7 separate regions of the Homo sapiens genome follow, and regions 1, 2, 3, 4, 5 and 6 are each linked to region 7. The links are contacts of gene promoters, found by promoter capture Hi-C in blood cells and fetal thymus (Javierre and others, 2016). All regions are on one chromosome and are shown on one strand. The core of a region is centred on a gene start or on the middle of the fragment in contact, and the rest is flanking DNA. Distances in the headings are between cores, read along the strand shown.

Evidence for each region. The method cuts DNA at HindIII sites, captures the fragments that hold promoters and counts their contacts. A CHiCAGO score of 5 or more calls a contact.
Region 1: a fragment that was not itself captured here is called in contact with the fragment with the promoter of AFTPH in region 7 in 1 of 17 cell types (fetal thymus); the score reaches 5.8 in fetal thymus.
Region 2: a fragment that was not itself captured here is called in contact with the fragment with the promoter of AFTPH in region 7 in 5 of 17 cell types (activated CD4 T cells, neutrophils, total CD8 T cells and 2 more); the score reaches 8.2 in activated CD4 T cells.
Region 3: a fragment that was not itself captured here is called in contact with the fragment with the promoter of AFTPH in region 7 in 3 of 17 cell types (total B cells, total CD8 T cells and neutrophils); the score reaches 7.5 in total B cells.
Region 4: a fragment that was not itself captured here is called in contact with the fragment with the promoter of AFTPH in region 7 in 7 of 17 cell types (fetal thymus, total CD8 T cells, total B cells and 4 more); the score reaches 8.1 in fetal thymus.
Region 5: a contact is called between a fragment that was not itself captured here and the fragment with the promoter of AFTPH in region 7, in 1 of 17 cell types (naive CD8 T cells). The highest score is 5.1, in naive CD8 T cells.
Region 6: the fragment with the promoter of ACTR2 here is called in contact with the fragment with the promoter of AFTPH in region 7 in 4 of 17 cell types (non-activated CD4 T cells, total CD8 T cells, fetal thymus and 1 more); the score reaches 8.0 in non-activated CD4 T cells.

The regions. Positions count from the first base shown.
Region 1 is chr2:63,842,422-63,845,634 of GRCh38, forward strand. The region is part of intron 1 of UGP2 (UDP-glucose pyrophosphorylase 2); the gene reads left to right. Among named protein-coding and RNA genes, the nearest start is that of UGP2, 2.1 kb to the left of the region's middle. The HindIII fragment of the contact is 1,431 bases long and covers 608-2,038 here.
Region 2 is chr2:64,002,513-64,005,639 of GRCh38, forward strand. All of the region lies in intron 1 of VPS54 (VPS54 subunit of GARP complex), which reads right to left. Among named protein-coding and RNA genes, the nearest start is that of VPS54, 15 kb to the right of the region's middle. The HindIII fragment of the contact is 1,229 bases long and covers 887-2,115 here.
Region 3 is chr2:65,047,760-65,050,874 of GRCh38, forward strand. All of the region lies in intron 2 of LINC02576 (long intergenic non-protein coding RNA 2576), which reads left to right. Among named protein-coding and RNA genes, the nearest start is that of CEP68, 7.1 kb to the right of the region's middle. RefSeq lists a silencer at 2,710-2,882. The HindIII fragment of the contact is 8,739 bases long and covers 1-3,115 here.
Region 4 is chr2:65,126,381-65,129,767 of GRCh38, forward strand. The region is part of intron 1 of RAB1A (RAB1A, member RAS oncogene family); the gene reads right to left. Among named protein-coding and RNA genes, the nearest start is that of RAB1A, 2.0 kb to the right of the region's middle. RefSeq lists enhancers at 931-1,470, 2,994-3,387 and a silencer at 3,325-3,374. The HindIII fragment of the contact is 2,208 bases long and covers 510-2,717 here.
Region 5 is chr2:65,064,273-65,067,663 of GRCh38, forward strand. All of the region lies in intron 1 of CEP68 (centrosomal protein 68), which reads left to right. Among named protein-coding and RNA genes, the nearest start is that of CEP68, 9.6 kb to the left of the region's middle. RefSeq lists an enhancer at 3,296-3,391. The HindIII fragment of the contact is 4,853 bases long and covers 1-3,391 here.
Region 6 is chr2:65,226,140-65,229,539 of GRCh38, forward strand. ACTR2 (actin related protein 2) reads left to right here and starts at 1,692. Exons shown (of 9, transcript NM_005722.4): 1 at 1,692-1,818. The coding sequence starts at 1,771. LOC124907779 (a long non-coding RNA gene) reads right to left here and starts at 1,460. Exons shown (of 2, transcript XR_007086461.1): 1 at 1,342-1,460. RefSeq lists enhancers at 683-1,572, 1,573-2,461, 2,534-2,623 and a silencer at 1,844-2,033. The HindIII fragment of the contact is 6,982 bases long and covers 1-3,400 here.
Region 7 is chr2:64,522,459-64,525,959 of GRCh38, forward strand. It overlaps AFTPH (aftiphilin), which reads left to right and starts at 1,870. Exons shown (of 10, transcript NM_203437.4): 1 at 1,870-2,154. AFTPH-DT (AFTPH divergent transcript) reads right to left here and starts at 1,697. Exons shown (of 1, transcript NR_136167.1): 1 at 1-1,697. MIR4434 (microRNA 4434) reads left to right here and starts at 3,055; the gene lies at 3,055-3,107. RefSeq lists enhancers at 1,427-1,646, 1,748-2,248, 2,249-2,749 and silencers at 1,847-2,006, 2,037-2,116, 2,127-2,376. The HindIII fragment of the contact is 6,179 bases long and covers 467-3,501 here.

The DNA of each region.
Region 1 (3,213 bases), core at 73-2,572, 680 kb before region 7:
GCCTCCCTGAAATCAGGTTAGTAGTACCGTCGCTTTCCTGGATAGTGGCTGTAAGTGATAAAACAGGATTTTTGGCTGCTAATTAATCCTTGTTCTCTTTTCCTGGTCTGTGTCAAGGTACCTGTGCGTGCACGCAGACGGGAAGGGCTGGGGAAGCGGGAGGACTGAGAAAAGCCGGGTGGGTTTTGCCGGGACTGTTGGGGAAGCTTTAGTGTTCTCCGCTTCTACTTCGTTTGTGTGTACGTGGTTTGCGTCTCAGATTCACTTATTGCGAAACTGGGAGTAGCCCGAAGAAGCTGGAGGTCATTTCAGCTGGAGAAATGACTTTGCTGCATTGCTGTGTTTATTTTTTCCTTTTTTGAACTATGAAAAGATGATTAAGGTTCCTTTGAAGTTTGAAAACTGCTCTCTAAATTCCACATGTGTATTTAAAAAGGGTTAGGGAATGCCTCAACTGAGATTATCAGTAACGTGTATATGAATGCATGTGTGTACGGTGTACTCACTGAAATTGGTGCTGGCATAAACCTTTGACACCAGTTTGTAGCATGAGATTTGCCTTCTGGTATGCAAGTAAACTCTTTCCTTGTAGACTCCAGTGTGTGAAAGCTTCAGCCATCTTGATGAACACACAGCTAGTAAAGTTCACAAACACTTATTATGCTTCCTGATAAATGTAGGTGTACTTTTGGAAAAAAAAAGTTGTGTCAGTAATGGCCATCATTTGACCCTGGGAATAAAAATGCCCTACTGAGTTCTACATCGCTTTATTAACTCTTCTTTAAATTTTGTGTAGTAGATTAAAGTAAGAGAATTCGACTGCCTGTGTTATTATCGAAACAGATCGAACGCTATGCTTGCCTTTAGCGCTAAGCTCAGAAATGTCACTTGTTATTAGACTTTCAAATTCATGTTATACCTTATATGTGGTAAGAGATGCTTATGTTCTGATTGAGTAAATGTCTTATTCAAGAATAGAAAGGCAGAACTGTTAGAAACGTACTGGTTTTGTAATAACAATATTCAGTTACCATAAAGGCGGTATTTTGCAAGAATATGCTAGGTAAAAGTGGACAAGTTACTTCTCTTTAAAAGTTAGAAATATTAATAAACCCAAGGTGTTCCATGTAGAGTTATGCTTTAGAATAGGTTGCAGAATTGGCAAGCATTGACTGATTTCACAGCCTTTGCTGTAATGCCAACTTGTCCTCAGAAGATTCAAAATCAAGTGGTAAGAGTTGCTGTGTATGTTTGTCATTACTTTGTCATCCACTTTTTTTAAAAAAACTTTTTATATTTTGGAATACTTCAGGATTTATAGAAAAGTTGCACATTTGTCAAAACTAAGAAATTAACATAGGTACATTACTGTTAACTAAAGGCTTTGTTCAGATTACAGTTCCCATGATTCACTCTAAGATACCAGATTGCACTTAGTTGCCAGCCACTTTTTTTCTTTTTTCTTTTTCTTTCTTCTTTTTTTGTCAAGGTCTTACTGTGTTGTCCACGCTGGAGTACAGTGGGTATTCACAGGAACAATCATAGTGCACTACAGCCTCAAGCCCCTGGGCTCAAGCTGTCCTCCTGCGTTAGCCTCCTGAGTAGATGGGACTTAGGCATATGCCATAGCCTATAGTTGTCATACATTTTTACTTTAAATGGTAGTTTTCCTTTTAAGATGGGCAGTTTTGCACAAGAATATGACACCTCCTCAAAATTTTTTGACATGAATGTGCTCCTGTTTATCATTGTTTAAATTTTGTACAGTGTGAGCCCTCTATATGTTTAACTCTGCTGCTGTTGTAAATGATAAACCTAATTGGCAAATGACACAGCTGTCTCCACAAAAGAGCTTTCAAGTGTAAGGGTTGGAAATTTTGGTTTTGATTATTTTTTTAAGCAAATCAAATTCTTTGATCTTTGCTGCAGAAAATATTGATATTTCCAATCACTGGCACTTAGTAGTTCATGCTCCTTCATAGGGGAAAGAGTTAACAAATGTTAGGTTTCTAACTTTTTTTTTTCATGGGTTTTCTCAAGCTTTATAAGAGTCCTGAGATGTAGATTTTTTATCCTGCCCTTACAGGTGAGGAAAGTTAAGTATCTTGTCCAAAGTTCACAGCTTGTATAAAGCACTGATTGATTGATAGATTGATTTTGAGGCAGGGTCTCACTTTGTTGCCAGGCTGGAGTGCAGTGGTGCGATCACAGCTCACTGCAGCCTTGATCTCCTTGGCTTAAGCAATTTTCCCACCTCAGCCCCCTGAGTAGCTGGGACTACAGGTGCACACCACCATGCCTGGCTACTTTTCTCCTTTTTTAAAGAGACAGGCTTTCCCTATGTTTCTCAGGCTGGTCTCAAACTCCTGGTCTTAAGCGATCTTCTAGCCTCAGCCTCCCAGAGTACTGGGATTACAGGTGTGAGCTGCTAGTGCACAGCACTGAAATTCTTACATGAGTGTGTCTAAAACCCTAGTCCTTCCCGACATCTTTTGTTGCTTCTAACATTAACAACTGTGGAAATGGCCTGTTTCTCCAGCTAGACTGTCAGTTCCCATTGGGCAAAGATAATATTATATCCTTGGGAGAAATACAGTGTTTTGTAAGTGGACGATACTCTAAATGAATTTGTCATGGATGACAAATGAGAAGCCCACAGCTTAGCATTTTCCATCTACTATTTAGTAGCTTATCTTACATTTTTGGTTGTAGTTTTTATAACACCTCTTAGATTATATAAATGTTGAGAAAGATGGAAAGGTACAGACTTAGATTTGAATACCGTTACTAGCAGGTGATCTTAGGCACATACCTTTCAAACCTCAGTTTCTTCTTAGATAAAAATTGGGCAGTAATGCTTATGCCTCAGGGTTATTGAGAGGCTGAAATGAGATGAACTATGTGGATGTGCTAGGCACATATTAGGTAGCCAGTCAATTTTACTTTTCTTTCCTGAAATGATGGTGGCCTTTCAGATAGCATTGCCACCCAAAATATAACCACATGTCATCAACAGAACTAAAAGAAAAAAGGCAGGTATGAAAGTTCTTTATTTTCCTATTCCAGGTTTCATGTTCAGGCCTAGGTGTTATTATGTTAAAAAAAAAAAAAAAAAGTGCCGGGGTGGGGCAAGGTAACGTTTGGACAATATGAATTTGGTTGTAGTTTTTATAACCTCTCAACTTGAGTACAAGTTGGTGACGGTTTTCTTCT
Region 2 (3,127 bases), core at 251-2,750, 520 kb before region 7:
TAATGTCAGATAAATTAGATATTCATTCTGACAATACTATGTTGATATCTTGATTTATTCTATTTACCATGCTGTTTTTACAGAAAAAAAATCCTAAGTGCCATTTTAGAAACCTAGAAATATGCAGGGAGATGGCAGAAAAATATTTCTAGATTCTTCTAAGTTATTTCTGTATCTGAGGAGAAAAACACATGGTTTACTCTTTAAAGATTTTGACTTGGAAAACATATGCACATTCTCTTTTTTCCTATACCACTCTTAATTCTTATAACAAGAGGGAAGATCTCTAGTAAAAGGGGATTACATAAAACTAGTGGACTGCCTATAAAGATGAGTCCCAGTTTCCAAACATTTGACTCTTCACTGCCTTCACCATCCACAGCTTATTATTAAAAAGATCTCCCTACAGTAAGAACCAAACTTTGTACTGATCATCACATAATTATAAAAGTACAATCACTGGTAAGAAAACATGGATTTATTCATAAGATGTAGATGTACAGACAAATACAACAAATGTACATGGCATCTGAATCACAAAATTTCAGCAAAGAAATAATCTTTCATTGAAAGGCTAAAGAACAAAAATGATGAGAAACCTTAAGAAGGTTTCAGGATAAGCAATGATAGTTTGTCTACTCAGAAAAAAAATCAGTTCGAAAAAACAAACAAGCAAACAAAATACACAAAATACAGGAAAACGGAAAGCTCTAAGCACTAAACACAGGGAACTACTGATTTCTGATAGTTCAAGTTAACTACCATCTAGAAACAAATTTGGCATTTTAACAATTGTAATGAGAATCTATAAATAGCTCTACCTTTTTCACATGGTAATCTCCTTATAATTGTATGAATACTATGTTCAAATATTATTCTCTCTTGAAGCTTTCTTTGGTTTCTCACACTTAGTCACTCTATGTATTTCAATTTTTGCATCAATCATACTGAGGTTTTGCTTTTCATACAGTTCTTCCCTATCAGGCTTTGCATTTCTTGATGTTTCTGTTTTTCTGTGTATTCTATTTGCTTATCACAGTTCCTGTCATACATATAATAAAAATTTTATAGATGAATGAAATGGATGGTATGTAGAACATATCAGAACAGACAGACAAAACAGACAGACAGCTGCCAATAATACTTAAGTAATAACAGAATGGGTCTGGGCTAATAAGGAAAAGAAAAAACAATCATCCATTCCAAAAAAAAAGGATTTCCAAGGATGAGTAAATAGAGATTTGATTTTCTTTCTTATAGCTCAAAATATCTTTTTATGTTCAGTTAAAAACTTCTTTTGAAAGGCACTAGAAGCATTGCCTCCCCCAACCCCAACCACCAGCCAGAACCCCACCAAGCAATGAACACACGTGGTGCCCAGACTTCTGTTTCTAAATACCACTTCCAACTAAAAGAACCAGGACTCTTTGAAAGAATATGTAACTCCAGACATGGAATACAGAAAGAATAAGTCTACCCTGAGCACTCTTGTGTCAGAAAGCAAGATATGCTCAAAGACCAGCAGGACCTATCAAGAGGACAAAGGACCAAGTTAAAAGGGGGTTCCCACTGGCCACATTTGGGACAACTTGAGCATATTTTTTTAAAAGTAATAGAGTATAACATATGGAATAAGTAAAAATTAATGGATACATAGAGATACTTAAGGGAGAAAAAAAAAGATAAGGAAAGGGGGTGGGGAAAGAAAATCTCTACTGAAGAATGCCAGTAATAAATATAAAAGGAATAACCAAATTAGAAAATCACCAATTTGCAACCCCCAATGTAAAAGCTAATTCAGGCAAAAATCACCAAAGTATGCTAAGGCCATTAGGTGAAAAGTTGTTAAAAACATTATATTCTCATGGCGCCTAAGTATTACCTCACAGATTACTTAGCAACACAAAGGGGAAAATGTATCTTTAAAATGGAGACCTGGCTGTCACCACCTTACATAAGTCATTAAAGTTAACATTACTGATAACAGGAGGACAACCTGATATTATGTAATTCATGAAATGACAAAATAGGAAATAAACATCATTACCTATGAAATAGTCTCTTCAAAAATGTTTAATCCAATCCAATCCAATCCAATCTCTAGATCAGGAGTTAAGCTTTATTGTCCTGTGGATTTCTTTTACAGTCTGGCGAAGTTTATGGATACCTTCTTAGAATAATGTTTTTAAATGCATAAAACACACAACACTACAATGGACAATTATACTGAACTACAGCTACAATAATAACTGTTTAAATTATAACATAGTATTATTTCTTCTTTTTGAGACAGGCTCTCACTGTCACCCAGGCTGGAGTGCAGTGACATAATCACAGCTCACTGCAATCTCAACCTCCTGGGTGCAAGCGATCCTCCCACCTCAGCCTCCTGAGTAGCTGGGACCACAGGTGCACACTACCACACCTGGCTAATTTTTGTATTTTTGTAGAGACGAGGTCTCACTATGTTGTCCAGGCTGGTCCTGAACTCCTGGGCTCAGGCAGTCCTCCCACATCAGCCTCCCAGAGTGCTGGTATTACAGGCATGAGCTACCATGCCCAGTCTACTATTGCTTCTTTTTTTTTTTTTTTTTTTTTTTTTTTTTTTTGAGACGGAGTCCCGCTCTTTAGCCCAGGCCAGATTGCAGTGGCACAATCTCGGCTCACTGCAAGCTCCGCCTCCCAGGTTCACGCCATTCTCCTGCCTCAGCCTCCCGAGTAGCTGGGACTACAGGTGCCCGCCACCGCGCCCGGCTAATTTTTTGTATTTTTAGTAGAGACGGGGTTTCACCGTGTTAGCCAAGATGGTCTCGATCTCCTGACCTTGTGATCCGCCCGCCTCGGCCTCCCAAAGTGCTGGGATTACAGGCGTGAGCCACCGCGCCCAGCCTACTATTGCTTCTTAATACGAATCTAGTAACTACCTTATAGGCAATAAATGAGCATAAATTAAATCTTAAGATATCTGTAGCAATTGAATGTGATATGAGAATACCTGAGATTTCTATTGGTGACAAAGCTACAGGTACTGTAAATGTACTGTCCATACTGTATCCATGAAGCGTTTCTTATATTCCTAATTAAAGGAAATGCTAAAATCCAGTTAGGGCAGAGTTTTTCAACTTTG
Region 3 (3,115 bases), core at 228-2,727, 520 kb after region 7:
ACAGCAGTGTGTTCACCTGTCAGCACATAAAACTGCAAATCTACAGAAAAGTTGAAAGATTACAATGGATATAACCTTTACCTAGTGAATTAGTTATCTATTGCTGCAAAACAAATTACTCTAAAACATAGCTTCATGGGAAAAAACATTTATCATGCCAGTTGCCATGGGTCAGGAGTGCAGGCACTGCTTACCTGACTCTTCTGGCTTGGGGTCTGTCACAAGCTACAAATCAAAGTGTCAAGTGGGCTGCAGTCTCACATGAAGGCTTCACTGGGGAAGGATCTGCTTCCAAGCTCATTCATATGGTTGTCAGCAGGATTCAGTTCCTCATAGGCTATTGGACTGAGGGTCTCAGTTCTTCACTGGCTGTTTTCTGGAGGCCTCCCTCAGTTCCTCACATGTGAGCCTCTTCCCCATGGGGCAGCTCACAACATGGCAGCCCATCTCCATCTGAGCAATTGAAGGAGAGAGAATTCAATTATGGAAGGAACCTCCCACATGCTGTTTGCTAGAAGCCAGTCTCTAAACCCAGCCCTTACTCAAGGGAAAAGGATTACACAAGGTGTGAATTCCAGGAGGGAAGGTCAGAATTCACTGAGTGCCAACTTAGAGTCTGCCAACTACAGATTCATCAATTACTAACATTTTATCACATTTGCACGTGCTCCCCCTTAGATAGATAGCTACAAATACAGATATACAGTTTTGTTTGTTAAACAACCAAAATTAAGTTAAAGATTGATATGGTTTGGCTGTGTCCCCACCGAAATCTCATCTTGAATTCCCACAAGTTGTGGGAAGAACCTGTGGGAGGTAATTGAATCATGGGGGCAGGTTTTTCCCATGCTGTTCTTGTGGTAGTGAATACGTCTCACAAGATCTGACGGTTTTAAAGAGGGGAGTTTCCCTGCACAAGTTCTCTCCTCTTGTCTGCTGCCATGTGAGACGTGCCTTTCACCTTCCACCATGATTGTGAGGCCTCCCCAGCCACGTGGAACTGTAAGTCCATTAAACTTCTTTCTTTTGTAAATTACCCAGTCTCAGGTATGTCTTTATCAGCAGTGTGAAAACAGACTAATACAAAGATATTATAACATTTCACCTCTAATTACTGCAGCATGTATCTCCTAAGAATAAAAATATTTTTCCACATAACCACAATGCCATCACCGCCCCTCAAATTTAACAATTGTGCTATAATATCATCTAATATCAGCCCAAATTCAACTCTCTCCAGTTATCCCCCAAATACCTTTTATAGCTCTTTTTTTTCCTGCTCCACTATCCACTCAAGTTTCCTGTATTGTTTTTGGTTATTATCTATTTAGTCTCTTTTAATCTAGAACCATTCCTTCCAATACCATTTATTACTGGGTATTTTTTTCCATACTGTTGACATTTTTGAAGAGTTCAGGCCAATTGTTTTGTACAACTGTTGCCCACACAACAGGTGGGCTAGGTCACTTGGTAAGTAACAACCAATGGCCACAACCAAGGAGGATTTAACAAGAGGATTTTATTACTTACAACTAGTAAAAAGAACACTGGGTATAGATAGCTCCCAAAGCAATGCCTCCCTGAGCTCCAGGCTGTGTCAGGTTTTATAAGCATAGGGTAATGAGGCATGATCTGACTGGATCTTGCAATGAGGTAATGCCAAGAGGCATGATCTCACTGGATCCTGCTAATGAGTGATGCCAGAGCTCAATCTGATTGCATCGTAGATCCAGCCATGCAGTGTCAACTTCCTAATTCAGTCCCTGCTCCTCTGAGCACTTAGGTTCCCCCCTGTGGCTACACACTTGGTTCACCTGGGCCTGCTCAGGTTACATGACCTGAAGCTCCATTAGCAACTGAAAAACAACTCATAACTTTTGTTACATAAAAGTTGAACCAAACTGGTCTGGTGCAGCTACATAATATCCCATATTCTGGAGATGATTACTTCCTAATGGTGTTCATCTTATACCAGTATCTACTGTATTTCCTGTAAGCAGGAAGTTAGGTTAAATATTTTTGGAAAGAATTCTACTTAGGAGGCACATGTCTGGTAGTCCCATTATTGGTGATGTTTGATCACTTGGTTATGGTGGTAATTGTTTGATCTTTCCATTATAAATGCATAATTTCCCTTTTGTAATTAGTAAATAATCAGTGGGGCAATACTTGGGAGTCTGTGTGAATACCTTGTTCCCAGAAACTTTTTTCCCAATAGTTTTAGCATTCATTAGTAATCCTTATCTTGGTTAATTGGTTAATTATTACATTTGAGTTTCCAAAAGGGTAATTGTCTAATCTAACATTCCTCTTACAGTTATCACTCTGTAAAGATGAGCTTTTCTTTTTCTCTCTTTGTTTTCTTATGTTTTGTTTGAGATTGACTATGGACCATGATTTTCAAAAAATTATTATATTATAATCAATTATAATTATAGATTACAAATATTTATTTTACATTAACATTTAATACATTTATTATATATTTATATATTATGTTAAACATATTTATTATATAGTACTATATATTAATATACTTGTTAATATATTTAATATATAAACATATTTTAAATATAATCATATATTAAGCATATATACTTAACTATATACCTAATTATGTTGAAGTTAATTATACATTTAAGTATATAATTATCTCAAATATACTTAAATACAATTATACTTAAAATGTAATTAAATCGTAATTAACATTATTTTTTATTTGCAGATTGTCCCAAATTTGGCCAATGAAAAAGTCCTTCAAGGCCAGGTGTGGTAGCTCATGCCTATAATCCCAGCATTTTGGGAGGCTGAGGCAGATGGATCACCAGAGGTCAAGAGTTTGAGACCAGCCTGGCCAACATGGTGAAACCCTGTCTCTACTGGAAAAAAAAAAAAAAAATTAGCCGGGTGTGGTGGCAAGTACCTATAACTCAGCAGGCTGAGGCAGGAGAATCACTTGAACCTGGGAGGCAGAGGTTGCAGTCAGCTGAGATCATGCCACTGCACTCCAGCCTGGGAGAAAGAGCAAGACTCTGTTTCAAAAAAAAAAAAAGAAAAAAAAAAAAAAGTCCTTCAAGTTGACTTCTATATCTTTTTTTTAAAAAAAACAGCTTTA
Region 4 (3,387 bases), core at 364-2,863, 600 kb after region 7:
GCCTGTAATCCCAACACTTTGGGAGGCCAAGGCCCGGGCGACAGAGCAAGATTCCGTCTCAAAAAAAAAACAAAACAAACAAAAAAAGTAATACAGCTACCAACTCTTATGTAAACCAATATAAATCTAAAAATTCTGTTGCTTCAGAATCTTTTTTCTCAAGATCCCATTTTCACTACCAAATTTAGCAGAACCCATTAACAAAGATTATAAATTTCTAAAAGAAACAATATAAATTGGTAATGATAAACCAAAGTAACTTAAGGAACATCTGGAGTACATTTGTAAACATTAGCTAATATACCATTGTTAGTTATTAAGATAACATACTGGAAGCAGGAAAAGCATCCACCCATTAAAGTTTTAATTGAAGAGAAAGCAAGACTTTGGAGTTTGGAACAAGATGTTAAAAACGAATGAGCTTGTATTTGCGTGATAAAACACTAAAGAACTTTTCTTTCTTTCCTTTATTTTCCAAATTTTCTCTAATTACTTTTATAAAGATAACAAGCTTCATTAAAACAAAAAGAAACTGCTTAAGTCAGATTACTAAAAATCTGATTGCTCACTGCCCTTGTGACCTCCCCTAATAAAATATCCCTCACTTCCTCTCACCCTAAGTAATTTTCACTAACACTTTTGCAAAGGTTTTCTCAAATTCCTGTATTATTTTACTAAACAGTCTAGAATACAAATATAGTAGGCCAGATACCCATGTATTTGATCCCAGAAAAAATATAAAAACTGTTTCTGGGTTTGATCCCTTTGAGGTCATTAGTCTTCAAAAGAAAGGATGATTTGACACCGTATTTACTTATTAATTACTGTCCTTGTCATTTATGAGCCATTCCTCCTTCTTCTCCCCCTTGAAAATTCCTAGTCACTCCCTCTGTTCCTCCAAATCTAATTGCTGATAAATCCCTTTCAGGTCTCTCTTCTATAAAGTCTTCCAAAACCCAGATAGCCAACCACAACCCACCATCCCCCTGAAATCTTGTTGCTCTCATCCATGCCACACATCTGGAATTTGCTATATCTACTGGTATTTGACATGTATAAAATCTATTTCTGCCGGGCGCGGTGGCTCACGCCTGTAATCCCAACACTTTGGGAAGCTGAGGCGGGCGGATCACTTCGGGAGTTTGAGACCAGCCTGACCAACATGGAGAAACCCCGTCTCTACCAAAAATACAAAATTAGCCGGGAGTGGTGGCACATGCCTGTAATCCCAACTTCTCGGGAATCTGAGGCAGGAGAATCACTTGAACCCAGGAGGCGGAGGTGGCGGTGAGAGGAGATTTGCGCCATTGCACTCCAGCCTGGGCAACAAGATTGAAACTCCGTCTCAAAACAATAAATAATTTTTTTTTTGAGACGGAGTCTTGCTCTGTCGTCCAGGCTGGAGTGCAGTGGCCAGATCTTGGTTCACTGCAAGCTCCACCTCCCGGGATCACGCCATTCTCCTGCCTCAGCCTCTCGAGTAGCTGGGACTACAGGTGCCCACCACCACGCCCGGCTAATTTTTTTGCATTTTTAGTAGAGACGGGGTTTCACCGTGTTACCGAGGATGGTCTCGATCTCCTGACCTCGGGATCCGCCCGCCTCGGCCTCCCAAAGTGCTGGGATTACTGAGGTGAGCCACCGCGCCTGGCCTATATCTAAACTTCTTAAGCGCAAGGATTATATTCCTAAATCCTGGTACTAATAGAATGCCTTTCATGAAAATGATGCATACCACCTGAAGAATGCTCACACGGTTTTTCAAATTCTTTTATATACATTTGAATTTCACCACTACCCTGACAGGAATAATGACTCCAATTATCCTATTTTACAAAAGGGAAAAAAAATTCAGAGGCTGAGTAACTTGTCAAAGTTCTCAACTAATCTTGAAGATTTATTTACACTAATAAACATATATATAGCAAATTCAGAAAATTTCCTGAACAGTAGAGGTCTATAAACCTCGATAAAGCAGTAAATCCATGTTCTTTATTGTTACCAAGAAAACTACTAAATTAAGAACCTCAAGTTCACCTCCGTTCAACTGTGCAAAACCAACTTTGTCCTTGGAGCCCTTGAAAAAAAATTTTTTTTAAACTGTCAACACAGCAAATGTCACTACAAGAACACTACCCTCAACTTCTAAAACATGAAATTCTAATAAAATACTACGGTTTCTGTTTAGTGCAAAAGATTTCAGCTTCAAGCCACACTATTACAAAACTTGTAAGCATTTTGCAAGAGCCATGTGACACACATATGACAGTCAGCTAAACTGGTGGGTGGACCTTTTAGGGGAAAATGTCTAGCAGTAATTGACCAAACCAGCAAATAAACTCAACTTTTACAACAAATACTGATGTTCCCCCATCCCTCAAAGGCCTTTGACACTGAAAAGGAATACCAATTCGGTCTCTTCCAATTATTCATTACTTTACATGCATGTAAACTGTAGAGGAAATTTTTAAAGGGCCATTGAGGAGAGCCCAACAAACTCTACCCAAGGGAAGTGAACACCAGTTCCCAGGAAAGGTGCCAGGTGTGTCACATCTGCTGTGGTGACTTCTTGAGTAAGCAAGAAAAAGAAATGCATTAACTTTTCATGACACGTCATGGAACCTCATTCCCTATCTGCAAGCATCCAAGCAGGTAATCCAAAACCTACATACAGATCTATCATAGGTCCCGTTCGTTTCTCTTTCAACTTGACAGCAAGCTTCCTTTAATCTGCGAGTATCAAAAAGACATTTCTTGGCTTTAGTTTTTTTTTTTTCCCTTGACCCACAGAAGACAAAATGACTTAGGTGTCCTCTTTAAAAAAAAAAAAAACAAAATTCTCACAAATGCCCAGGTTTTTATAGGAGGGCAATGGACCCGGCGAGCTCTTAAACAACTCCTCCAAGACACAACTCAAAAAGAGAACTAATAAATGTTCAGTTGCTTCTCACCATCTACTCATTCCCCTCAATCCCACGCAGTCCCGAAAAGCATCCATATTACCTGAAACCTGGCGGGGAGGATGGAAGGAGAGAGAGCCAACAAGCTCAGGATTTACAAGTAAAGCTGGTTTCTACCCCGAAGATCCTGACAGCTCCGCAGAGTGCGGGCGCAGGGTCTGACAGTGCCCTCTAGAAGGGCTCTCCCACCCCATCCCCTCCCCTTAGAGACAAGTCCTCCTTCAAAAGTCACTGCCTCCGAGAGAAGATACCCCTTCACACCGCCCCAGGCCCCTCGGCAGGCTTCCTCAGCACCCGCCCCGCAGTCAGGCCCTCTAACCTGACCCGGTCCAGGCCCGGGCGGCTCACCCCTCCGGCCCGACCCCTCCCCCGCGCGGCCGCCCCTCCGCGTCAGACAATGGGGCCCGACTCCCGGCCGCCAGCCTCT
Region 5 (3,391 bases), core at 154-2,653, 540 kb after region 7:
TAATGAGGTCCAGACAAGATGAATAAAAAGTACATGATCAAAACAAAGGGATAATTTGTTTGCACCCCTCCCTTGCCCCATCATCATCTTATTCCAGCACCTTGTCTCAAGATCGCACCCTTTAGTGAGAGGTGTGGGGAATCTCTAGCCATTGAGAGAGTTTTTAGAAATCGAGCAAGAGGCCGGGCGTGGTGGCTCACACCTGTAATCCCAGCACTTTGGGAGGCCGAGGCAGGCAGATCACGATGTCAGGAGATCGAGACCATCCTGGCTAATGTGGTGAAACCCCATCTCTACTAAAAATACAAAAAATTAGCTGGGTGCGGTGGTGGGCGCCTGTAGTCCCAGCTACTCGGGAGGCTGAGGCAGGAGAATGGCGTGAACCCGGGAGGTGGAGCTTGCAGTGAGCTGAGATAGCGCCACTGCAGTCCAGCCTTGGCGAAAAAGCGAGACTCCGTCTCAAAAAAAAAAAAAAAAAGAAATGGAGCAAGAAGTAGCAATTGGGAATTATGGGCTATACCCAGCCTTCACCCTGGTTTTTCTAGCTCACGGGCGCAGCTGTTCCCCTACTTATGAAAACAAAACTTGCCTGTAAACGTCTTCATGTGCAGTTTCTTAATGAGCCACAAGGTGAGGATGTGGCTCCGTAAGATCTCTGTCTCAGCAAGATTTGTCACTCTTCTCTTTGTCCCTCCACCAGTCTTCTCTCTCTTCTGCTTTGTGGCTTAACTGTTTGATCACTTATTCCCCAGTTGGCTCATAAACAGCTTGGGCTCTGGAGTTGGGCAGTCCTGGACTTGTCTCACTCAGAGGCTTCGTTTCCCCATCTGTGACGTGAGGATTAAAGACCCTGGCTCCCGTGGGAACTGGCCCTCACATGTGCTGGTGGAGTGTAGAGTGATACCACTCAGCAGAGGGCCACTTGGCAGTGTGTGCAAAAGCACCCTTCGCCTCAGCAGCTCTACTTCTGCAATTCATGCTGAGGATGTGCCAGCACAAATGTGTGTGCATAGTGACTCATCATAGCATTGTTTGGACTAGCAAAAAAGACTAGAAATAACCCAAATGTCCACTAATAAGGGACTGGTGAAATAAACTAGTGCGTCCTTACACCAGAATACAGTACTGGTCAGTAATGAAAAAGAGGAAGCTGTCTTTGTACGGTAAGTCCTCACTTGATGTCGTCAGTAAGTTCTTGGAAACCGTGACTCTGCCACTTGAAAGGACATATAACGAAACCAATTTTACCATAGTCTAATTGATATAAATAAGAGTTAAGCTCCTATGGCATATTTCTGGTCATGAAAGCATCACCAAACTTCTAAGTAAAGACTAAAACACTTTTAAATTAAATAGTGAAATAAATGTGAGCTGTACATACATTTATGAAAGATGAATAAAAACAAGTAAGATGAGCCAGGCGTGGTGGCTCATGCCTGTAATCCCAGCACTTTGGGAGGCCAACTAGGGCGGATCATTTGAGGTCAGGAGTTCCAGATCAGCCTGGCCAACATGGTGAAACCCCATACAAAAATTAGTCAGGCATGGTGGTGAGTGTCTGTAGTCCCAGCTACTCAGAAGGCTGAAGCAGGAGAATTGCTTGAAGCCAGGGGCCGGAGGTTGCAGTGAGCCAAGATCACGCCACTGCACTCCAGCCTAGGTGACAAACCGAGACTTCATCTTAAAAAAAAAAAAAAAAACACAAGATTATGATTTACCTGCTTACTCAAATGGGTTCAAGTTCGCAGGTAGCTGGAGCCTGTCCCAGCAGCTGAGGGTGTAAGGAGGGAACCAATCATGGGCAGGACTTCATCCCATGGCAGGGCACGCTCACTCATCTACCCACACTCAGACCAGGACCATGTAGTCAGCCCCATTCACCTAAGTATATGTTTTCAGGATGTGGGAGGAAACCCGAGTATCCAGATGAACTGGATATCATCCAGGCAGACATGGGGAGAATGTGCACACTCCATACAGACAGTGACCTCAGTCAGGAATCAGGGTTTCTTATCAATGATATAATGAAAAGACATTGGACCGGCTGGGCGGTGTGGCTTACACCTGTAATCCTAGCACTTTGGGAGGCTGAGGCGGGTGGATCACGAGGTCAGAAGTTCAAGACCAGCCTGGCCAAGATGGCGAAACCCCGTCTCTATTAAAAATACAAAAATTGGCCAGGCACGGTGGCTCACGCCTGTAATCCCAGCACTTTGGGAGGCTGAGGCGGGTGGATCATAAGGTCAGAATTTCAAGACCAGCCTGGCCAGGATGGTGAAACCCCATCTCTACTAAAAATATAAAAATTAGCCAGGTGTGGTGGTGGGTGCCTGTAATCCCAGCTACTCGGGAGGCTGAGGCAGAGAATTGCTTGAACCCAGGAGGCAGAGGTTGCAGTGAGCCGAGATCACACCACTGCACACCAGCCTGGAAGACAGAGTGAGACTCTGTCTCAAAAAAAAAAAAAAAAAAAATATATATATATATATATATATACACACACAAAAAAAAATTAGCTGGGCATGGTGGCACATGCCTGTAATCCCAGCTGCTTGGGAGGCTGAGGCAGGAGAATTGCTTGAACCAGGGAGGCGGAGGTTGCAGTGAACTGAGATCGCACCAGTGCACTCCAGCCTGGGCAACAGAGTGAGACTCTGTCTCAAAAAAAAAAAAGATATCGTACCAAGTGATGTTACTGAAGGACCTGCTGTATTGCTTAGGAATGAGCCCCTAGATATTTTTTGTAGAGAAAAGAAAACCAAGGTTCTGAATAGTATGACCTATACAGTTTGCTACTTTTATGTAAAAAAAAAAAGGGAGGGAAGGATAAGCCTGGTACAGTGGCTTATGCCTATAATCCCAGCACTTTGGGAGGTGGGTGGATTGCCTGAGGTCAGGAGTTCAAGACCAGCCTGGCTAACATGGTGAAACCCCATCTCTACTAAAAATATAAAAAAATTAGCCAGGCATGGTGGCGCACGCCTGTAGTCCCAGCTAGCCGGGAGGCTGAGGTAGGAGAATCGCTTGAACCCGGGAGGTGGAGGTTGCAGTGAGCTGAGATCACACCGCTGAACTCTATCTAGCCTGGGTGATGGAGCAAGACTCAGTTTCTGGGGGAACAAAAGTGGGGGAAGGATGAACATAGATATTTGCATCAGGAAACAAGGGTCATACACAAAACTAGTAAGGCTGGTTCCCTGATTTTGTGGGAGTATCTAGTAGTAAATATTTTGTTTGATTTGTATTTAAAAATGGGCTGCTTTTTCTCCCATTTGGCTCCTTTGTCCTTCCTTGTAAGGTGACCTGTTACACTGATTCTGTCCATGCCTCCCCATGACACTAATGACAACAGCCAACACTTAGTGTCCATACCATGCCAGGCACTGTCATA
Region 6 (3,400 bases), core at 442-2,941, 700 kb after region 7:
CCGGAATAATGTTCTTTCTTTAAAAATACAAATTAGCAATCCCCTTAATTCCACAAAGAGGAAAAGTAAAAGAACACAGAAATGCTTGAGTTCAATTTGCTGAGACCAATAAAATGCACTTTCAAGAAAACTGCACAGCACTAGCATTGGAGGCCACAAAAATAAGATACGGACTCTATACTCAAGGAATTTATGAACAAATAAATTTTTCTGCTGGCTGAGGTACTTCTCTGACTGTTAAAGCAGGTAAAACGAAGAAATGTTCCTCCGAGACTTCCTACCTATTCTAACCTCTCAAACTTCTAATTGCAACAATGGCAGCTTTATTTTTATCTTAATATTTATGTGTTGAGGGTTCCATATAAGATTAGATTTGAATAAAGCACTGTATGCCTTTAAAAAGGTTTGAAAATCACTGGTCTAATAAAAGAACAGTGAAAACTGACAGGCAGCTATATTATAAAAAGAATACTGGATTGAGGGTTCATGATGACTGTTTTATTCTAGTTGTTGAACATGTACAGCCATGTCGAAGGAAAAGTTCTATTTCTCACCTCTCATAAAGGATGGCATTTTAAAGGTGAATTTTAATGTCATTCATCTAATAAATATTTGTTGCATGCAATAAGCACAATGTTATTCATATATTCATAGTAAAGTAATAGGGAGAAAGGAAGTACGGAATATCCTGAGGATATCAGCTGTCATCAGAGATGTAACAAGCTGGGTCTCAGAGCACAAGTTTGCCAATTGATTAAAAAGGAAAAAAAATGAGGCATCGTAGATAGAATCATAGGTCCAGAAGAACAGAATTAGAAATAGCTACCACTGAATGAACATTTCCTCCATGCATAGACTTTTATCCTCACCACACCTATGGAGATAGAAGTTATTATCCCCATGCAGACAGGGGTATGCCAAAATCACAAAACTCGTGAGTGGCAGCGCCACGTTTGAAACTGGGGTTGTCTGATTTCAAAGCCAAGGCTCTGGGTTCACAGAAGTACATGTACTTAAGAGGTGTGAAGCAACATGGGACTACTGGAAGGAGGCGGTGAGCCACGAGGCTGGAAATGCAGGCACCTGCTCTCGCTCACTTGACCATAGAGCAACTTGGGCAAAGAAGGGGTGGGCTGACATTGGAGTATGGAACAAACGCATGATTTCAAATAAGCATGTGTGTATCCATCCCAGTTCTGTCCGCTGAAAAGGCCTAGAAGCAATAACACACCAAGCCCTGTCGAATGGTGGGGTCCGCCAGGACCTCCAGGCTTGCTCCCCGCCCTACCCGCCAGCTTCTCCGCCACATTCCACTGCCGCAGCAGAACCGGTGTCCTTCACCTGCCTGCGTCTTCTGCAGTTCGTTAAGCAGCGCCCTTAGCTCCTGTGACACTTTAGGGAGAAAGCCGCAGCACCGGCGATGTTGGCCGCCATTAACGCCCGGCAAAGCGCCCGGAACTAGAAGCAGCGAAGAACCCGGGTGGGCAGCGACCGTGACAGCCGAGCCGGAAGCGGAGCTGCGGGAGGGGCCTCGACGCTCCTCCATCTTTTATTGGAGCTCACCGCTGCCAGTCGCGCTGCCTGCCCGTCCCACCCTTTTCGTGCAGGCATTCAGCTAAATGACGGGCGGAGCCCGGCGGCGGCTTCCGGTCGGGGGAAAAAAGTTGGGCCGAAGGAGGGGCCGGGAAGACGCAAGAGGAAGAAGAGAAAACGGCCGGGCGGCGGTGGCTGTAGGTTGTGCGGCTGCAGCGGCTCTTCCCTGGGCGGACGATGGACAGCCAGGGCAGGAAGGTGGTGGTGTGCGACAACGGCACCGGGGTAAGGGCCGCGCGAGGAGGCCTTGGCGGCCACAGACGCCGGCGGGGACGAGCAGCTGGCGCACGGGCCCTCGGCCCCCAGGGCTGCACCTCCGGGCCCTCGGGGCGAAGGGGCGCGGGGCGGTGCCTCCCACCTCCGCGGGCGTGGGAGCGAGCCGGCCGTTCCCTGGTCTCCCTTGAGCCTGCCACCCATTTAGCCTGCCACCCCCTCACCCTTCCGGGTGGGGGCGGCGGGCGAGACCGGCACTGGACATGGAGCCTACTGACCGCCCGGCAGGGACCTGCTCCGCGCTAATGCGGGGGCAATTGGGCTAAAGCGGACGGAAGCGTAAAAGGCTCGGTTTGTGTGTTCCGAGAAGGGCTCTTTTCCCCAGGGCCACCGGTTTGTAAAAAGGAGAAAGACCTAGAGGCCTTCCTCTTCCTGTATAGTTGAAGATACACCAAACGAGAAGCAGGAAGCGGGTTTACTTAAAAAAAAAAAAAAAAAAAGGGAAGTGCTGTCATGGAGTGTGGACCTCAGCCCTTTCGCTGTGTTTGTTGGGCTTTTTATTAGTTTTTTCGAGGGAAGGGGTCCAGATCGGCAGCGCATCGTTCACTTTTTGTTTTACATACTAGTATTTGGCCCAGGAGTAGGCCCACGGAGACCAGCATGTTCCATTGAGTGGTTTTGGGTGACCTAGGATCCCGCAAGACTCAAGTGTTAATTCCACTAGCCTTAGGGGAAGTTAATTAGTGTTGATTATCCCACCCCCAGCCCCCTTTTTTCCCTTCGTTTCAGTATACAGGTAATGTTAGCCTTTAAGATTCAAAAATTGTAAAATCTGACTAAAGCACTGATTTAGAAACTATTTGAAAATTGTTTCTGTAATCCCAGCACTTTGGGAGGCCCAGGCGGGCAGATCACCAGAGGTTAGGAGTTCGAGACCAGCCCAGCCAACGTGGTGAAACCCCGGTCTCTACTAAAAATACAAAAATTAGCCGGCCGTGGTGGTGCTTGCCTGTAATCCCAGCTACTTGGGAGGCTGAGGCAGGAGAATCCCTTGAAGCCAGGAAGCGGAGGTTGCAGTGAGCCGAGATTGCGCCACTGCACTCCAGCCTGGGCGACAAGAGTGAAACTCCGTCTCAATTATAAAAAAAAAAAATTGTTTCATTCAGACCTCCCTCTTGCCAGATTAAAAAAAAATGTATTTTGGGTAGCAAAGTCAGCAAATTAGAAGATGGAAATATTATTTATTCTGGATGACTTCTATAGTGATTTCTAACCATTTTGATGTTGCAACATTTTGTGAGTTTTCTCCCCTCCCTCCCATAAATATGATGTATGAATTAAAGTTCATTTTACTTGAACAAAACACTTTGGAATCTGAATTGTTGAGGGGGAAAAGAGCTGGTATTTACTGCCATAATACTGCCCTTGATTAGATTTGTTACACAATTTTACAAGCAATAATTATGGTAGCTTCATCTGAACTGTGTTAAAAATGGACTAGAGTAAAAAGAGTGTTAACGTACATTGAGGCCAGGCGCGGTGGCTCATGCCTGTAATCCCAGCACTTTGGGAGGTCTAGGCGGGCGGATCACCT
Region 7 (3,501 bases), core at 620-3,119:
TATGGCCATAATTTTTAAAAGGTAAATAAAAACAATACTATCATTGACTCCAAATGAAATGGACTTTATATTTCCCACAGATTTATCACCTTAAAAACACTCAAATACTTTCCCTTTGTAATAAAATGTCATGAGCATTAGGGCACTGTCTTCGGAATTACATGTAAGATTACCAATTACAAGTTAGTTGGCCAAATAGGTACTCAATTTCCCTATTACAAAATTGTAAGCTGATGGGGGGTGTGCAATTTAATTTAATTTTTTTTTAGACAGGGTTTCACTCTGTCGCGCAGGCTGGAGTGCAGTTTAAATTCATTTAGTTTAAACATGTTCTTAGTGTAGGGTCTGCTTTAAGGTCTAGTCATATGTTCTTATTTTGATATTTCTGTTTAGTAGAGCTGTAAAATGAAAACAAGCATGTGTTCGTTTAAAATCAATTTCTAGTTTCTACACACACACAAATTCAAGCTTGCACACGAGCTAAACCAGCAGGGGGCGAAATACAATAGGCATAAATTTGACAAGCCATATAGATTTTTCTTACTTTAGTGACTGAGCAATAACACAAAATCCAGCATAACCACAAAGCAATTGATACTCCCATTTAAAGTGATGCAGTCTCCGTATATCTTACAGCGATTGAATAGTAAAGAGACAAATGCGGGTCCATTGGAGCGCTCCGAGTTAATTTGTCTAGAACATTGCAGAGGCGGGATAAATCGTGATGAACTGCTATTGTCCTTATCTTTCTCCTGATTTGTATAATTCCTCCACCCAAAGGGGTGGACACTTCTCTGTGCCTGAGGGGATGTTTTCCATTCTTGTTTCTTTGCGTAACTGCTGAGCTTTGCTGTTTTGGAACTATTTTAAATTATTCAAATTACTGATGCAGACGTTTGGCAAATATGGGCAGAATGAGGGGCCGGCGGGGGTCATGATTTGTAGGACCCCGGGCTCATCATCCGAGACAGTAATCATAATCCTGTAGCCTTGTAGTCTGATTGTTACACTGGCAGGTGTTCTAACAGATATTCATTGTAAAGGAGGAGGAAAGGTAATATTTTTATTACCTTTATATAAATAACAGTTGATTATATAAATAATCAACTGTTCAGGACTGATGATGGAAACAAAATCGGTTACGACCTCTGTTCCAGAAATGCGTTTGAATGCATAAGTTTATGGTGATCTCTTTAGCTTCACTAGATATTCTCCGTAAGGGTCTATGAAAAACGACCACCTTCTCCATCCATTAGCCAAATTCCGGACTACTATTTTCTTGTCGGTCTCGAAGACGATTTGTCAGTTTGGCGGCTGCTTTCCCACCTTAAATTCTATTTATCGCAACCTCTTGTTATTTGTTAAATATCAGCTTCTTCCTCTGTCGGCATAAATTTAAAAAGAGGAAGAGACAGGCTGTGAATGAAAAAGTCGTTTTTCGGGGCGAAAAGGGCAAGCTGACGAATGCTCTCTAGTAGGTTTTTGGTAAAAATGTGGTTCTATATTTCCAAACCTTTACAATTTTATTTGGAGAGCAAGAGACTTAATCCGGTCTTGAGCTGAACGTTAACCGGCTGAAAGGAGCACCTGTCCTTCGCCAGGAGCGCAGCCTCAACCGGCGCCTGAGTGCGGGAAGACGTCTATCCCCCTACAGCTCTATGACTCGCAAGGAAGTAAAAGGAAAGGGCAGCTTGCCCGCACCCAAAATGGCGGTCGGCGCTCTGCACGACAGCGCCTGCGCAGGGATAAGCGTTCTGTGACACCAATTCCCCTGGAGTGTCCTCCCCCACCCCACAGCACCCACCAGCGCCCGGTCCCGACCTAGCCACCTGCGCCCGGAAGTGACGTGTCGGCGGCAGCGGTTCCCCCGCTGCATGATGGGAGAGTGTGTGGAGTGGGCGGGGGGTCTCCGCGGAGGAGGTGGAGGAGGCGGCGGCGGCGGCGGAAGAGGGCGGAGGGTAGTGGGATGGGGGTCCCGCGGCAGCGGTGAAACTCCGGGTGGGCGTCCATGGTGCTGCTGCGCTGACAGGGCTGTGAGCAGCCGGCCTTCCGCTCTCACCAGTTCCGCGTCGGAATAGACGGTCCTTCCCCGGGGAGTCAGTTCCTCCCCGGGCCCCTGAGCCATGCCCATCGCAGCCGCCCCGAAGGAGCCAGGTAAGCGCCGCCGCTCCGCTCCCCTAGCTGCGCCGGGGAAAGAGGGTGCGGGGACCAGGCCCGGCCCAGCAGCCAGACCCTCACCCGGGCCGGGAGCATCTGCCCGCCGCGGAGCCGGGAGCTGTGAGGACGGAGCTGGCTCTGCGGGCCTGCGGGCTCCCGGCTCTGCTCTCTTCTGCGGCGAGTGCGGGAACGCCGCTGGTGGCGCCCGAAGCGCACGGCCCCCTCCTCGCCATCCCGGGCACCGGCCGGGTAAGTGGGAGTCCTTCCCTCCCCGGCCACCGCCGGCTCTCCCTGCCCCTTTGCTTCCACCTCCCAAAGCTCCGCGCTGGCTGCGTTCTCCAGGGAGCTGTTCAGAAGTTTGGGGCTTTGCTTGGGCTTCTTCGCTCTCCTTCCCCCTCCCTCGTGACAGGTGTAAACACTGCCTCCTTCACCGAGGCCCGAGGCTGGCCGCGACCTGAGTGTGCTGCTTCCAAGGGTCTCTGAAGCAAGCGAATTTGGAATCCTCCAACAGGCAGAGGGGACAGCCCCAAAGCTCACGCATCCCTTCCTCAGAGTACCTTTTCTGCTGTCTTCTTGCACTCTTCAAGAAATTATCTGCGTCTCCTCTCCAGTTTGCGTTTGAAAAGTTGGACCATATTCCTTAAGTGCCTGGTTTGGCAGGTGCTGCGTCTTGCTTGGGGCAGAGGCAGAGTATGGAGTGAGGGGTGGTAGGGTCCTTGCTCTATTAGGAAAGTAATGGGGATAGCAAGGTTTTTTTTTCCTTGTTGCTTTGTGCAAGTTATAGCTTGGTTATACTGAATCTTTTCTGTTGGGGCCGAGGGAAGAACTGACTCATACATGTAAATTTTTTACTGGGCGGGGGGATGAAACAAAAGTAATGGTTCCGTTTCAAAGTTCTCACTTTAGGAGAAGTAAAGTAGAACTTTGGTTTTCAACTTTTCCTACAGTGTAAGTCTTCCTTCCACCTCCTATTCCGAGGATTTTATTTGGTGGAGGGGAGACACAGAGTTTATCTTTGATGCTACACTTAATTGTTGCTTTCAGTTAACCTCTTAGACATTAAAATATATGCTAAACTCTAGGGACAACAAATGTTTCAACATTATTATGTTAATATAATTAACACAGTCACGTACATTTTATATGCTTTACCAGTTTAAATGTTGGCTTTTTTAGTAGTCATTTTTAACACTTCGCAGAGGTATATTTGTTTAAACAAAGTATCTGTGGTAGTCTCCTAAATTTTGTTCATAAAGATATTTCACATGGATTAAAAGACAGATCTTGTGTAAAACATCTAGCCCAGTAAATGGCACCTAGCAGATATTCATTAGCTCTAGTTGT